Regions from separate parts of the Homo sapiens genome. Here region 1 is linked to region 2. Evidence: promoter capture Hi-C in human tissues and cell types (Jung and others, 2019). All regions are on one chromosome and are shown on one strand. The core of a region is centred on a gene start or on the middle of the fragment in contact, and the rest is flanking DNA. Distances in the headings are between cores, read along the strand shown.

Region 1 (6,595 bases), core at 1,398-3,897, 540 kb before region 2:
ATGGTTGTCCCAGGATGAGCAAGAATGTCCGTATCTGGTAATGCCTGACCACCTACCTCATGACAGAAGCAGCTGGGATAACACTTCGCAGATTACAAGTGGCCCCAAAACAGACAGAAATCTCAGAGAACAATGTATACAGGGGAAGGCAGCCCCAACTGAGTTCAACTCCCCAGATTCAAATTCTCACTATTAACCAAGCTATGTTCTTTAGGTGAGTTTATTTACTCTTGTCTTAATTTCCCCACCTATGAAACACAGATAATATACTAGAACTTTAAACTAACATGGGCTTAGGGTAATTCCTGGCATATAATAAATGCTCAGTAAATTAGTTCTCATTAGCAAGTCTCTGCCTACTGTAACATGACCAGGTTTGTCCAGAATCAAAATGCAGCAAATTAAGCAAAATGAAATTGACATTAACACAGCTTGTACTGGCAAAAGACTGGCAGGATTTACCAAAGAATAATAAAATTACTCTTTCAGATCTTCCACATGGGGCATCTCTCCGTCTTTTCACAGCAATCTGTACCTCTTTCTCTTAGCTTTTATCACTCATTAGGTCATGTTATCTTTGTTTACGTGGTGTAGTTCACCTGGGAGACTGTTAAGGTTCTTGAGGACTGGATCTAGGACTGGCTGATATTTGAGTTTCCTTTAGTACTTTGAATGCTGTGGATGCTTAAAAACTGTCAGTGGTATGAATGGATGGATGGATGGATGGATGGATGGATGGATGGATGGATGGACGGATGGATGGATGTCCCTCTGCCTGGTAACTCATAATGATTTGTAAGCATGTGGTTCTGTTATCCATCCTTACTGCCACTACTCTCCCAGATTGGCTGGGGAAAAGTTCCTTCATCTGAACATATGTGTAAATTCACTACTTTATTAGCCATGAATGCATCCTCCCAAGAGGCCTGAACATCAAGATTCTGTACACTATCAATCAAAATCTCCCACAGCGCAGGTTCTGTTTCCTAGTGATCAAGTCTGAGGCAGATAATTCATAATTGTTTGCTCACATTTTTATTTATTTTATTGCCACAGGATTTTGCAGGATGAACATGATGGAGGTGATTTTTGAGCCAATTAACAGTGGGATATCTAAATGAGCGCCGAATCTTAAGAGGGCTGGAAAATTAAGATGGAATGAAACCATCCCACCTGTCTAGTTGTAAGACACCAAACTGCCATTTAGCACATTCTGCCTCCAGTTTTCTTATTTCAGCCCAGTGGGGAAGAAAGAAAGATGGCTTGCTTCCTATTAGATAGTTAAGTGATTCCAGAATTCATGCTTTTAACCTACAAAACTCAAAACTCAAAACAAACAAACAAACAAACAAAAGCTCCTAAAGTATGTGACTAAAGTATCTTCCAGGCTCAGGCAGGCATTTGCTACTGTTCTTTGAGTCCCAGAAGGGCTGGGGGTTCAGTCACCTTATCAAATAGAAATTTCTCCCCAATTTTTTCTAACAGGCACTTTCCCATGTTTGACTAAATTCACAGTTCCTTCCTAATCTACAGTGACTGTTTTGACTGGTTAGTATTACTCTTGAAACAGCATCACTATTTGCTGAATGGGCATTTTTCAGGAATTTATCTTCTATTAAGAATTACCCAAAACCTTATTTGATGCTTATGGAAAAGCAGACAATAAAAAAAAACACAAAGAGCAGAACAATTTGTCTTCATGAGTGTGACTGTCTCCCATTGGCAGGGCTGGAATGCATAGGTCTTATTCCGCTGGCTGCCTCATAAAGGGTGATGATGGGACTGTCTGTCCCTCTGTTTTCCCACTGACAGGATAAATACAATACTTGCTACTCACACCTGGAAAGACTACTTTAAGAAATGATGAGAGTGTGTTTGTGAGGAATTTCAGTTTGCTTAAAAAGCCACATAACAGCAGCATCATCACCTTACTAGACTATGGTGTGAAATAACACCTGGAAAAATACAAATTATTAACTGGAGAGCTCAGATGCTGGAGCAAGACAGTCCTGACCTCAAATCTGCTTCCTTTTCTTATTAGCTAGGCAACATGGGGCAAGTTATTTAACTCTCGTTCCCCTATGAGTAAAACTGAGTAGGAGCGTCTGTCTGCTTCATGGGTTTGTTGTGAGGACAAAAGGATACGACACATGCAAAGTGCTTAACACAGTTCCTCACACATAGTAAGCACACAGTAAAGGGTGGTTATTATCAGTCATTAGCATTTCAAATAAACTACGTTTTATGACCACCAGTTAAGTATGGAAAGAAGGGTATCATGGATTTAAGCTTAACCACTGAAATTGAGGGTTGCTATGTGATAAAAAGAGTAGCAACTTTTACCACCCACTAATTTCACCAAAAGTTTTCAAGTTTAACATCAACATCACAGGTGTTTTCCTTTTTAAGAGGGATGAAGAGAGTTACCGGTCCTAAACCACAGACTATAGATAAATCTTTGTCAATGAATTATTGAATGTGTTACATAGGTCCCATTGGATGGAGAGTAGAAAAATCCATGAAACCCTGCAGCAGAGGTCAAAAAGGCAATTTTAAGTATATGTCCCATAGGCAGTGGGCCACTTGTGTTACCATCACCTATGAAAAATCTACTGGCACATATTAGGTATATTAACACAACCTCCAGAATGGAATACGAAAGCCAGTTCACTCATGGAGGTAGCCAATGGTGTGGTCCTCAAACCAGGAGTGTGGAAACCCTAATAAGTCTGCTCTGAAGATGTTGCTGTATATTAGGCCTCAACGTCCAAGCCTGTGGGGAGGTGGCACGGTGGTGTGGGCCAAACCCATGTGCATTTAAAAAAATCATTTAACTTAGGATTTGGAATATATCAAGTAACTGTCTTAGTAGAGAACCATGGGTTAAACTGTATCCCCCAACAAAGGTAACGTTGAAGTCCTAACCCCCAGTACCTCAGAATAAGACCTTATTTGAAAGAGCGTCTTTACAGAGATAATCATATAAGAAGGTTATTAGGGTGAACCACACTCTAATATGACTGTATCTTTATAAAAAGGAGAAATTTGTAGCCAGGCATGGTGGCATGCGCCTGTAATCCCAGCTACTCAGGAGGCTGAGGCAGAAAATCTCTTGAACCTGGGAGGCGGAGGTTGCAGTGAGCCGAGATTGCTCCACTACACTCCAGCCTGGGTGACAGAGCGAGACTCTGTCTCAAAAAAAAAAAAAAAAAGTTGGGGGGGTGGGGGATTGGACCCAGAGAAAGCCATGAACACCATGTGAAGATGAAGGCAGAGATCAGAGTGACGCGTCTACAAGCCATGGATCCCCCAGTGACTGCCAGCAAAGCACCGGAGGCCAGGAGAGAGGCACGGAGCAGATTGCCCTCACAGCCCTCAGAAGGAGCCAACTATACTAATATCTTCATCTGGGAAATGTGAGACAACACATTTCTATTGTTTAAAATCTATTTATGGGCTGGGGGTGGTGGCTCACGCCTGTAATCCCAGCACTTTGGGAGGCTGAGGCAGGTGGATCACAAGGTCAGGAGATTGAGACCAGCCTGGCTAACACGGTGAAACCCCGTCTCTACTAAAAATACAAAAAATTAGCTGGGTGTGGTGGCGGGCGCCTGTAGTCCCAGCTACTCAGGAGGCTGGGGCAGGAGAATGGCGTGAACCCGGGAGGCGGAGCTTGCAGTGAGCTGAGATCACACCACTGCACTCCAGCCTGGGCAACAGAGCGAGACTCCTTCTCAAAAAAAAAAAAAAAAAAAATTTACTTATGCCTAGTGTTCCATTATTGGAATGCTAAGCATGTGGAGTTATTTATATCCTACTGCTCAAGGTCATCGCCGAGATAGGATTGCAAAAATTTCAAAAAATTGCAACCTCAGGCATAAATGGGTTAAGCCATGCAGTTTGTGGTACTTGGTTAGGGCAGGCCCAGCAAACTAACACCTAGAGTAGGATGGAAGTCATCTGGGCTTCCCTTCCCCAATTCTAATAAATTTACTTCAAAAAGTACTTTCACTTTCCAAGAACACATTGACTGTCTGAAGGTAAAGACGTGCTAGGTTTATAAATTCAAAGGTGGTATCCCACATAGTAGACGGTCTACCTAACTGGTAAACTGTCTGTACTCATTGGTTCTTAATTCAGTAATTCCTCTGACTGGCAAATTGTGGCTTGTAGGCTCACTTGCAACAAGTCTACAGATTACTGGGTTTTTGAGGAATGGCTCATAAACCACCCATTGTTCTTCTCTACCCACCTAAAGTAGCATTCGCCCAAGTAGGACCCACATGTACCCCTGTGCCTACCCCAGCCATCACCACGTGCATGTTTCTTACATGTATACTTTCAGAATGAGGTCATCCTTTGTCTCTCCTGTTAGCAGGTCAGCGATGCTAAGAACTGCACAGCCAAAGGGTCGTCGGTACTGGACACTACAGGCATTCTTTTTTTCTCCTGCTCCCATTCGACCTGTTCAATTAAAGAGCAATCATTAACCCATGGAGCCATTTGATTAGATGCATCTTAGGTAGCGAAACATACAGCTATAAGATAGGCCATTGAAATGTAATTGGGCAATAAAGAGCACCCAGGTTGGGCGTAACAGAAGATATTGCTTCAGTTCTGGATTCTCCTCTCCAGTCACCTAGCTGTGTGACCTTGGGTAAGCAGCTTAAATTCTGGGCGTCAGTTGCCATCTGTAAAATACAAAGACTGGAACAGATCCCATGTTTGGGAACCATCCCCTGGCCCCTGAGATTCATGAAGGCATCCCAGGAAGTTCACGTCACTAAAGGCAGTAATGGTGACTCTTCCATTTTCTATTTTTAAACAAATTCCATATTCAAAAAAACTATTTCAAAAATTTCACCTGTGACTAGAGTAGTTTGAGGTTGTCTGAAGTACAGCAAGTAAGCACAGGTGATCAAATGTGCATGCTCCTGCCTCAGCTCTCAGGCTGTTCAGAACTCAGTTGTCACCAAAATGGTTTTAACTGTTGTAAAGTTTTAACTTGTTTAAATTGTTACATGTTTAAAAATATGTTATTAATACATTGTTTTAATGTATTGTTGGTATTTAATTATCAGTGGATTATTTTGAAGACAAAAAGCAAAAAGTACACTGAAGTTGAAATATAACAAGTTAATGTGGGAAAAAATGATTTTAAAAATCTGCAAATTTGTCTCTAGGTGCTTTTCAACACAACCATAAATTGTTTCTATCTGAGCAAAATTCTCCTATAGCACATCAAGATATCTCCAGCAATTCCAAAATCCAATGTTAAGCAGGAAAAAATGGGATGACAATATCCAATTTGGCTTTCATTCATCAGTAGTAAAGGAAAACTACCTCTGCAAGATGTCACTTTCAGGGAAACACAGCCCGAAAACCTCTTATTTTATCAGTTAGAATCAAACTAAAAAATGGCCCAAATAAGCCAGCTGCTTTTCAGATGTGCAAAATGTAAGAATTTAAAATATCAGGTTGTCATGACCTGATGCCATATGTATGGCCAAATTTCACTCTACATAATTTTAATATAAATTCTGTCTGAAAACCGAACACTTTATGTCATACTTGAATTTAATTATCAACCAATCCTACTTTTACTTACACAACTGATTTAAACAAATTTAAAACTTTGGTCACTTTTTTAAATGAAAAAAAAGGTCTCAATTTATGTCTATTTTGAATAATATTACAGAATGTATTAGGATGAAATATTAATATGTATGGCAGTCTTTATCAATATCGTGGTTTAAAACATGCTTTTTTCTTAATCATTTCCTTGCAAATACAAGATGACAAAAGGATAAGATTTCTGAGTGGAGCACTTCAAAGTTATTTAACATCAGAAAGAAGCTCCTTATTAAAAAAAAAAACTAGAAACTGCAAACAAGATTATTCCTAATGACTCTGCTAGCTCCTACAGTTTACACAAGGGCATGCACACATTTCAATCCTTTTTTGTTTGTTTGTTTTTAAACAACCCCTTCATCTAAAGCTGCACTAAAGAAAAAAAACTGTAGGGGACAGAAGGAATGGCAAAATAAGGGAATAAGGTTGATGGGAGAAGTGTAGCTCTCACAACCACTTAACACTCTCCAACAAGGATTTTGTCACTTGTGACCCCTGGGAAGCTTATCTCCCAAACCTCCACCTGACTCATGTCTTCAAACATGCAAGTTTAACGTTAAGCCACGGCTTTAGACACCATTCTAATTACTATACTGGAAAGATGTTTTGGTGCCAGATCAGTGGCACCAACCCTAGAGTTAATAAGAATTCACAGTTCTGACTGGGCTTTGGGAAACCCGATCAGATTTCTAGCACATTCTCTAAGTAGGAAGGAAGGTAGTGGGAGTGGGGGAAGGGAAAAGTACTGAGCAATCAACCAAAAGTCAAAAGGGAGGCATAGAGGTTGAAGAAACTTCCTGGCATGAGCAGGAAGATATAAAACTATTAATTTCTCTTTTTTTTTCCTCTCCATCTTTCTAAAGAGCTGGACTTAAATTCCCAGAAGTGAGGTACTGTTGCTCCTGCTTTCTGCAGCCAGTGATGGCCAACATGCCCTTTTCCTACTAAATAGGTACAAGAGACA
Region 2 (6,772 bases), core at 2,936-5,435:
CTTTGATACTCTTGCTGTAGGTCGCCGTGAGGGGTAGGGAAGCATATATACTGTAGGGAGAAGTATCAAAATCATTTAAGGTCTTTTTTCCAAACTAGTGTTCCCCTCCCACATCCCAACAACTCTTGGAAGTCTGGTGCTCCCTCTAGGTGAAAATCATTTGCTGGCTTATGGAGTCACTGTTGCTGAGTCCCATCCCCCAGTTACAGTGCAGTGGAAAACAGGTTTAGAATCTAGAACTTGTTTGTATGTTGTCACTTGGTTATGTTCCAAGTAGGTTAGAACCATGGAAAAGAGATTGCAAATGGTAGTTTCTTCTAGATATTCAAATGCATATATGTATGTACATGTAATTATAAATAAATAATGAATTTTTATTAAAGTGTTGTATGAACATAGGTTTTTGTTTGTTTTTGAGACAGTCTCCCTCTGTTGCGCAGGCTGGGGTGCAGTAGCGCAATCTTGGCTCACTGTAACCTCTGCCTTCAGGGTCCAAACGATTCTCCTGCCTCAGCCTCCTGAGTTGCTGGGATTACAGGTGTGTTCCACCACACCTGGCTAATTTATATTTTTAGTTGTGATGGGGTTTCACCATGTTGGCCAGGCTGGTCTTGAACTCCTGACCTCAAGTGATCTGCCCGCCTTGGTCTCCCAAAGTGTTGGGATTACAGGCATGAGCCACCGTGCCCAGCCTGAACATAGTTTAATGGTACTTCAAGGCTAATAAGGAAAGCCCCTTGCTCCATCCTTTCCTATTCCTCAGTCCCATCCCAAGAGACATTCAGCCTTCAGTTTTTTCTAGCTCGGTTCTTTCAGCCTTCAGTTTTTGGTTTTAGGTTTCTAAATAATATGATTATACAGCCATTTATTTTTTAGGTGTTTGTCAACTTACTATTAAGACAGGTGAAAATTTCTTTTATTGTTTCACATCCTTCTAATATTATTTTGGTTAGATCATGTACCTGTTTGCATAGCTGTGATCATACTTGTATGTTCACTCGTGAATTAATTTAATGTGCTTACATTTTCATTCTCATACAACGTTTTGTCTTGGAGTTAATGCTCTTTTTTTTGGCTTTTTATGCACATCATTGATTCTTCCCAAACAGTCCCAAATAAATTTGTCACAACTTTTCTTGATTCTGTACTTGTTTCAATCTAGACTAGTTTCTCTCATCCAATTGTATAGCAGTTTTCCTGAGACAGCACTATCGTGAGGATTTGTTTTTCTTTCTCTTGAATTGTATCCCTCATTTTCTGGATCCCATGTCTTAATTTACTTCTTTGTTAACATGGAGCACTTCTTTCAGTAGTTTCTTGGGAATGAGTGCGTGAGAGATCAGTCAGTTATTTAGTGACTTCATATTTCTGAAAGATAGTTTGCATGGAAATTCTAGGTGGAAAATCAAATTTGGAATTTTTGAAAATTTTGACAAGTGTATTCAAATTCAGAATTTTGAAGGCATTGCTCTATTCTAATTTGCAAAATCTTGAGATATCTGATGCAGTTTTTATTTTTATTTCTTTGTTTTCTCAGCATCTCTGTTTCTAGTGTTCTAAAATTGCATGATACTGTGCTTTGGTGGGATTGGCAACCTGGAAAATATTAAGTTCTTCATCTCTTCTCTTCCTCCTCATTTTCTTTGTTCTGGAACTCTATGACATAGTGGAGCTCCCAAATTGAATCTTGGGCCTTATTTATTTTTTTTTTTTCTGTCTGGGATATTTCTCTAAGACAATTTTCCAATTTGTATTGCATTTTGTTTTTGGCTAGCATTAAATTACTTGCCTCTGTGTAGCTCCATGCCACACTCTTGCCTCTAAATCCTAGGCCTGCCTGAATTCTGCAGGATCAGTCCTACTGTCACTCATCTGTGATAGCCCTGCTAAGGCAGATACCACTCTTCTTACCATGTTCAATACATTTATTGAGCTCTTCAGTATTGTTTCTTCCTATTTTAATTTTTCTGGTTTTGTAATTTGTACTCCTGCTTTTTTACTGGGCTTTTGGGAGGAAGAAGGTATAGAGTGTTAATCTGCATGTTGAATTTATATGCAGGTGACTTTATTCATGAAACTTGTGGTAACTGCTAGACAAGGGTGGCTGGGTGTTCAATGTGTAAGAATGCTTGTGTTTTCTTGAAAGTAGAAAAATGTTGTGTTATAGACTAGTTGTTCATTGCTTGATTCTTGATTAATTTTGCCCGCTTTCATTATTTTGAGGCTCAAGCATTTTGAAGTATTCATTGTCTGTGACTCCTCTTTGATGGGTACTAAATTTCCTGGGAGTGAATTTAGATACCCTGAGATGTAATATATGAAAGAAAAAGCAAATACTTGAGAATGTCCCTAGATTAGACACTTCATGTGAGAATATCTCTTTTTGTGACCCAAAACTCTTTTTTTTTCTTTTGAGATGAAGTTTCGTTTTTGTTGCCCAGGCTGGAGTCCAATGGTATAATCTGCCTCAGCCTCCTGAGTTGCTGGGATTACATGCATGTGCCACCACACCCGGCTAATTTTGTATTTTTAGTAGAGATGGGGTTTCTCCTTGTTGGTCAGGCTGGTCTCGAACTTCCGACCTCAGTTAATCTGCCTGTCTCGGCCTCCCAAAGTGCTGGGAATACAGGCATGAGCCACCGCACTCGGCCCCAAAACTCTTCTTAAAGGTGGTCTTGCAGGTATGTTATAGTTAAAATGAAGTAGGTTGTCTTGCTTTGTTCTTAAGTGGCTTTCCAGAAGTCTAACTGGTCTAAAGGCAGTCTTATCCCCCTCACTGGTGTATAGTTCAATTCAGACTTGAATGCGAGGTATGGGTTTACATCTCATCTCTGCCACTTATAATCAGTGTATCCCTCAACAATTAAATTCCTTAGTCTCCATTTCCTTCCTCCTTCAGGGGAAGTTAATATTCCACAAAGTTAGAAGTTACAGGAGAGGAAAAGTAGTAAACGCCCCAAAATGAGGCAGTTACTTCTATTATATCTTCAAAGGATACATGGCTCAAGGCAGATCAGGTAGTTGGGAGATTTCTTAAAAACAGCATAATAGCTAACATGAACATTTTCATTATTCAGAGAAATTTGACATAGCTTTTTAACGTATGTTTCTGAGAAAAGTTACTAGTTATATTGTCTTCCTCCAAGAATTAGTCTTTGGGTACAGATGAGGCTTGAAAAAATGACATTCCCTCTTAGACTAGGTAGTGTGAAGGGAAAAAAAAAATGACATTCCTCTTCCCCCAAAGCAGAGTGAGGTCCGTATGGGATATAGGTGTAAAGAAAATTTTGGGCCGGGCATGGTGGCTCAAGTTTGTAATCCCAGCACTTTGGGAGGCCGAGGTGGGTGGATCACTTGAGGTCAGGAGTTCAAGACTAGCCTGACCAACATGGTGAAACCCCATCTCTACTAAAAATAAAGAAATTAGCCAGCTATGGTGGCACATACCTGTAATCCCAGCTACTTGGGAGGCTGAGGCAGGAGAATCTGGAAGCAGGAAGGTCTCAGTAGGCTGGGATCATGCCACTGCGCTCCAGCCTGGGCAACACAGCAAGACTCTGTCTCAAAGAAAATTTTGTGGAACACCTATTTTCTCACTGACATGAAAAATGTTTCAAAGATGAATAATGTCCATCAAGCTATGGCAATGGAAGTGAGGATGATAAAGGATTGCACAGTTGTTCACAACCTCACTGTTAGTATCCTGCTGAGATAGTTGGTCTCCTCATCACTGTAGCATCTTTTATGTACAGCAGAGGGCAGAAGCTCCTTGGCATGTATGTGAGGGAACCACATATATGGAAGGCTGTTATTCCTGAGAAAGGAGGATGTGCAGACACTCACAGAACAAAGCCTTTGTAAAGGAAAGGCGGCCGATGAGATGGAGTGCTTCCTTCACCTGTGGTGGGTCTGTATCCATGAAATCGCCCACTCACAATCGCTTTTTGTAGCTACTGGAAGCACTAGGCGTCTGACCTGCCATCATCCTTGTTATGATGTCATAATCATATTCTGTCCGTGTTTATTGCAGTTCTCTGGTTTGTCTGGAGTGTTTGCAAGTCAGTCATCATAGTGGCAGCTTCCGCCTGCTACAGGATATTTATATATGGAAGCATACCATGGCAGGAGTGCTGGAAAGGTGGTGTCAGCTAACAGTTGCTTCAGCCAGATAAGGACGGTAACTTCAGTCCAATAAAAACCTCATCAGTTACCAACTAAATCAGGGCATGGTGTTTTTTTGTTGTTTTCTTTTTAAAGCATAGTTTTAGTAATATATTTACTAAAAACCTTAGACATTATGAAAAAAGTCAGGATTTGGAATCTTACACTGCTTGGCTAAATTGACACAATATAGACCAACAGTTTCATCCTGGGGCTTATGGGTCTCATAGGAGCACCCGTATGCTGAAGAAAGGCAAAGAGAGAACTACAGAATTTGTAGAAAAGTTTTGTTGTAGTTGCTTCTGAACAATTAGTTTTTGTTTGTTTGTTTTGTTTTGTTTTGTTTTTCTGGTAACCTAGCAGTCAAAGCTCACATTTTTGTAAGTAATTTGCATGCTATTACTCTACTGAGACTGAATTATGATTCTCGAGTCTGGGAAGTTTTTGTTGCATGTGCTCTGTGTTTTTCATTTTTGATAGAAATGATTTAGACTTGATTTTAAAAATTACTTCCTGAATGTGAAGAGGCATTGACTGGGAAATGAAATTAAAGAACAAATTACCATGACTCATTCAATAACACTGCTTATTAGCTTTGAATTATGCCCTATTATAACAATTCTGATTTTGTGGCAAGCAATACTGGTGTGAGTTATTTCTGTGGTTTGATACCAAGCACCTGCCTGGTTAAAAAATAAAGCACCAGGCAATTTTTCATAGACAATTATCTTTATTTGTTGGAATATTTATTTGTAAATAGTCAAAGAATTCTTAAATGACAAAAAATCAACTGTTAGCAGTGATCTAAACCAGAGGAAAATGAAATTACTTACATGTTTCCAGTCAAGGTATAAGAAAGGGTTCTGTTAAAGGGATGCTGCTTTAGCCAATCTTGGTGAATAAGCAAATTTGCACACTGGAGTTGAAAGGAGGGTCAAGTTAGTGTGATGAAGAATTGCTAGTAACACTGGCTTCTCCAGCCTTGCTGGTTGTTCCTAGATGCCCTCATTTGGAGATGCCAAAGATAGCAACTACTGGGTGTCAAACAGCCGTGGGGCCTGGTTTTAAGGCCATGTGATCTTGTATCCCTTTACTAGCAGCCTCATGAGTCATTTGCAAGTCATTTGCAGGCTCTTGGAGCCCTGGAACAGCACCCAACTCAGTTTTCTCTGCTAGTTCTTTATTTTTCCATTTGCGTGTTGCAGCTCATTAAAAAAATATTGGAATAGCATATATTTACATTGTGACTTCACTCTAAAGAAGACATTTTCTTTCAAAGCACGTCATGGCTCACTAGGTTGTTGTCTTAGTTTTTTTTGGAGTCACCTTTTGAGTAGATAGCAAGACCAGTAATATGGAGATTTTATTAGCTGTACTCTTAAAGTCAGTTTTTGTGGCCATGATTTTCTAGCTAGGTCTCTATTTTGTAAACATTGATTAAGCCTCAGTATGAAATTGAAGCAACAGCAGATACATTCCTGAAGGGGAAGCTAAGGCTCAAGGCTATTAAGTCAGAGATCCAAAAATGAACCATGCTTCAGTTACCACACCTAAAATAGAAGCTGTGTGCAGAACAGTGGTCCTGTGATGTGACACATAAAACTTTTTTTCCTGGTCACATATTACTGTTTGGTCAAATATTAGTATAAATGGATGATAAAATATGAAACACATCTAAAAGAATTGTTTTAAAATCTGTGACTATGCATGAGTGAATATTTTGGGGCCTTGGTTTTAACTGCAAAAGGATAAGATTTGACTGACCTCTAAGGCCCTTTTACTCTATTTGCTGCTGCTTTTTAATTTTTTTTAATTGTCATATCAAGTCATTTCCTTAGGAATGCTCTATGAAGTATATTTGGAATTCAGTAATGTCAATAAAGTGCTATGGTAGTATCTTATCTGAAAACTCAGGGAATTGTTTGTTCTTGTTAATTAAAATTTCAAGATAAGTGAAACACACTTTTTTAGTTTTAACCCTAAAAAAAATTTTTAGTCCATGACTTTTTGAGCTCACTTTCTTAGCTAGGGTTCTGGTAGCACATTTTTCACAAGTACCAGTAGTTTTAGGTATTACTGGGAAATTGTTTTTTTAATATTTTAGACTAAGTTTAAATTGCTCAGTAAGTGTCTGATACTTTTTTTCCCCACATCTTCTTTAGGTGTATACTTTTTTTTTTTTTTTATGAATTTGGTTTCTCCCAACTCTATATTGCTCTTCATTCTGTAGATGAGTTTTAAAGGAAATTTTTGCAACAACAGAAAGTAAACAGTGTGTTGTCAAATACACACAGGCACCATATTTATCGCATTGACTTTACTAGAGTCCAGATAGACATCACATGAGGATTTTTATCCTCAATCTTATTTCTGTTCATGTACTTATTATTAACTGCCTCCAATTCTTTTGAAAATGGTGAGATTTAAATCCTAAATAAACATTTCAGGTGTTCCATCTTAACATAAGTCACCAACTTCTAAACCTGGCACTGGGCATTTGAAGAATAGGATTCGTCCCTACTCTAAGGAGTTTTCAGTCTATCGGGAAATCAAAGATGTAAGCAAATAGATGCAATAAAATACTACAGATGTTCTGATAGAAGAATGTAAA

The links. The method cuts DNA at HindIII sites, captures the fragments that hold promoters and counts their contacts. A contact is called where the count stands out against the background at its distance.
Region 1: a fragment that was not itself captured here is called in contact with the fragment with the promoter of LSMEM1 in region 2 in 1 of the 25 tissues and cell types used here (heart left ventricle).

What each region holds. Positions count from the first base shown.
Region 1 is chr7:111,935,779-111,942,373 of GRCh38, forward strand. DOCK4 (dedicator of cytokinesis 4) reads right to left here. Exons shown (of 53, transcript NM_001363540.2): 11 at 4,332-4,464. Among named protein-coding and RNA genes, the nearest start is that of DOCK4-AS1, 130 kb to the left of the region's middle. The HindIII fragment of the contact is 3,128 bases long and covers 1,084-4,211 here.
Region 2 is chr7:112,476,806-112,483,577 of GRCh38, forward strand. It overlaps LSMEM1 (leucine rich single-pass membrane protein 1), which reads left to right and starts at 4,186. Exons shown (of 4, transcript NM_182597.3): 1 at 4,186-4,541. IFRD1 (interferon related developmental regulator 1) reads left to right here. Exons shown (of 12, transcript NM_001550.4): 12 at 1-398. The HindIII fragment of the contact is 9,789 bases long and covers 1-6,772 here.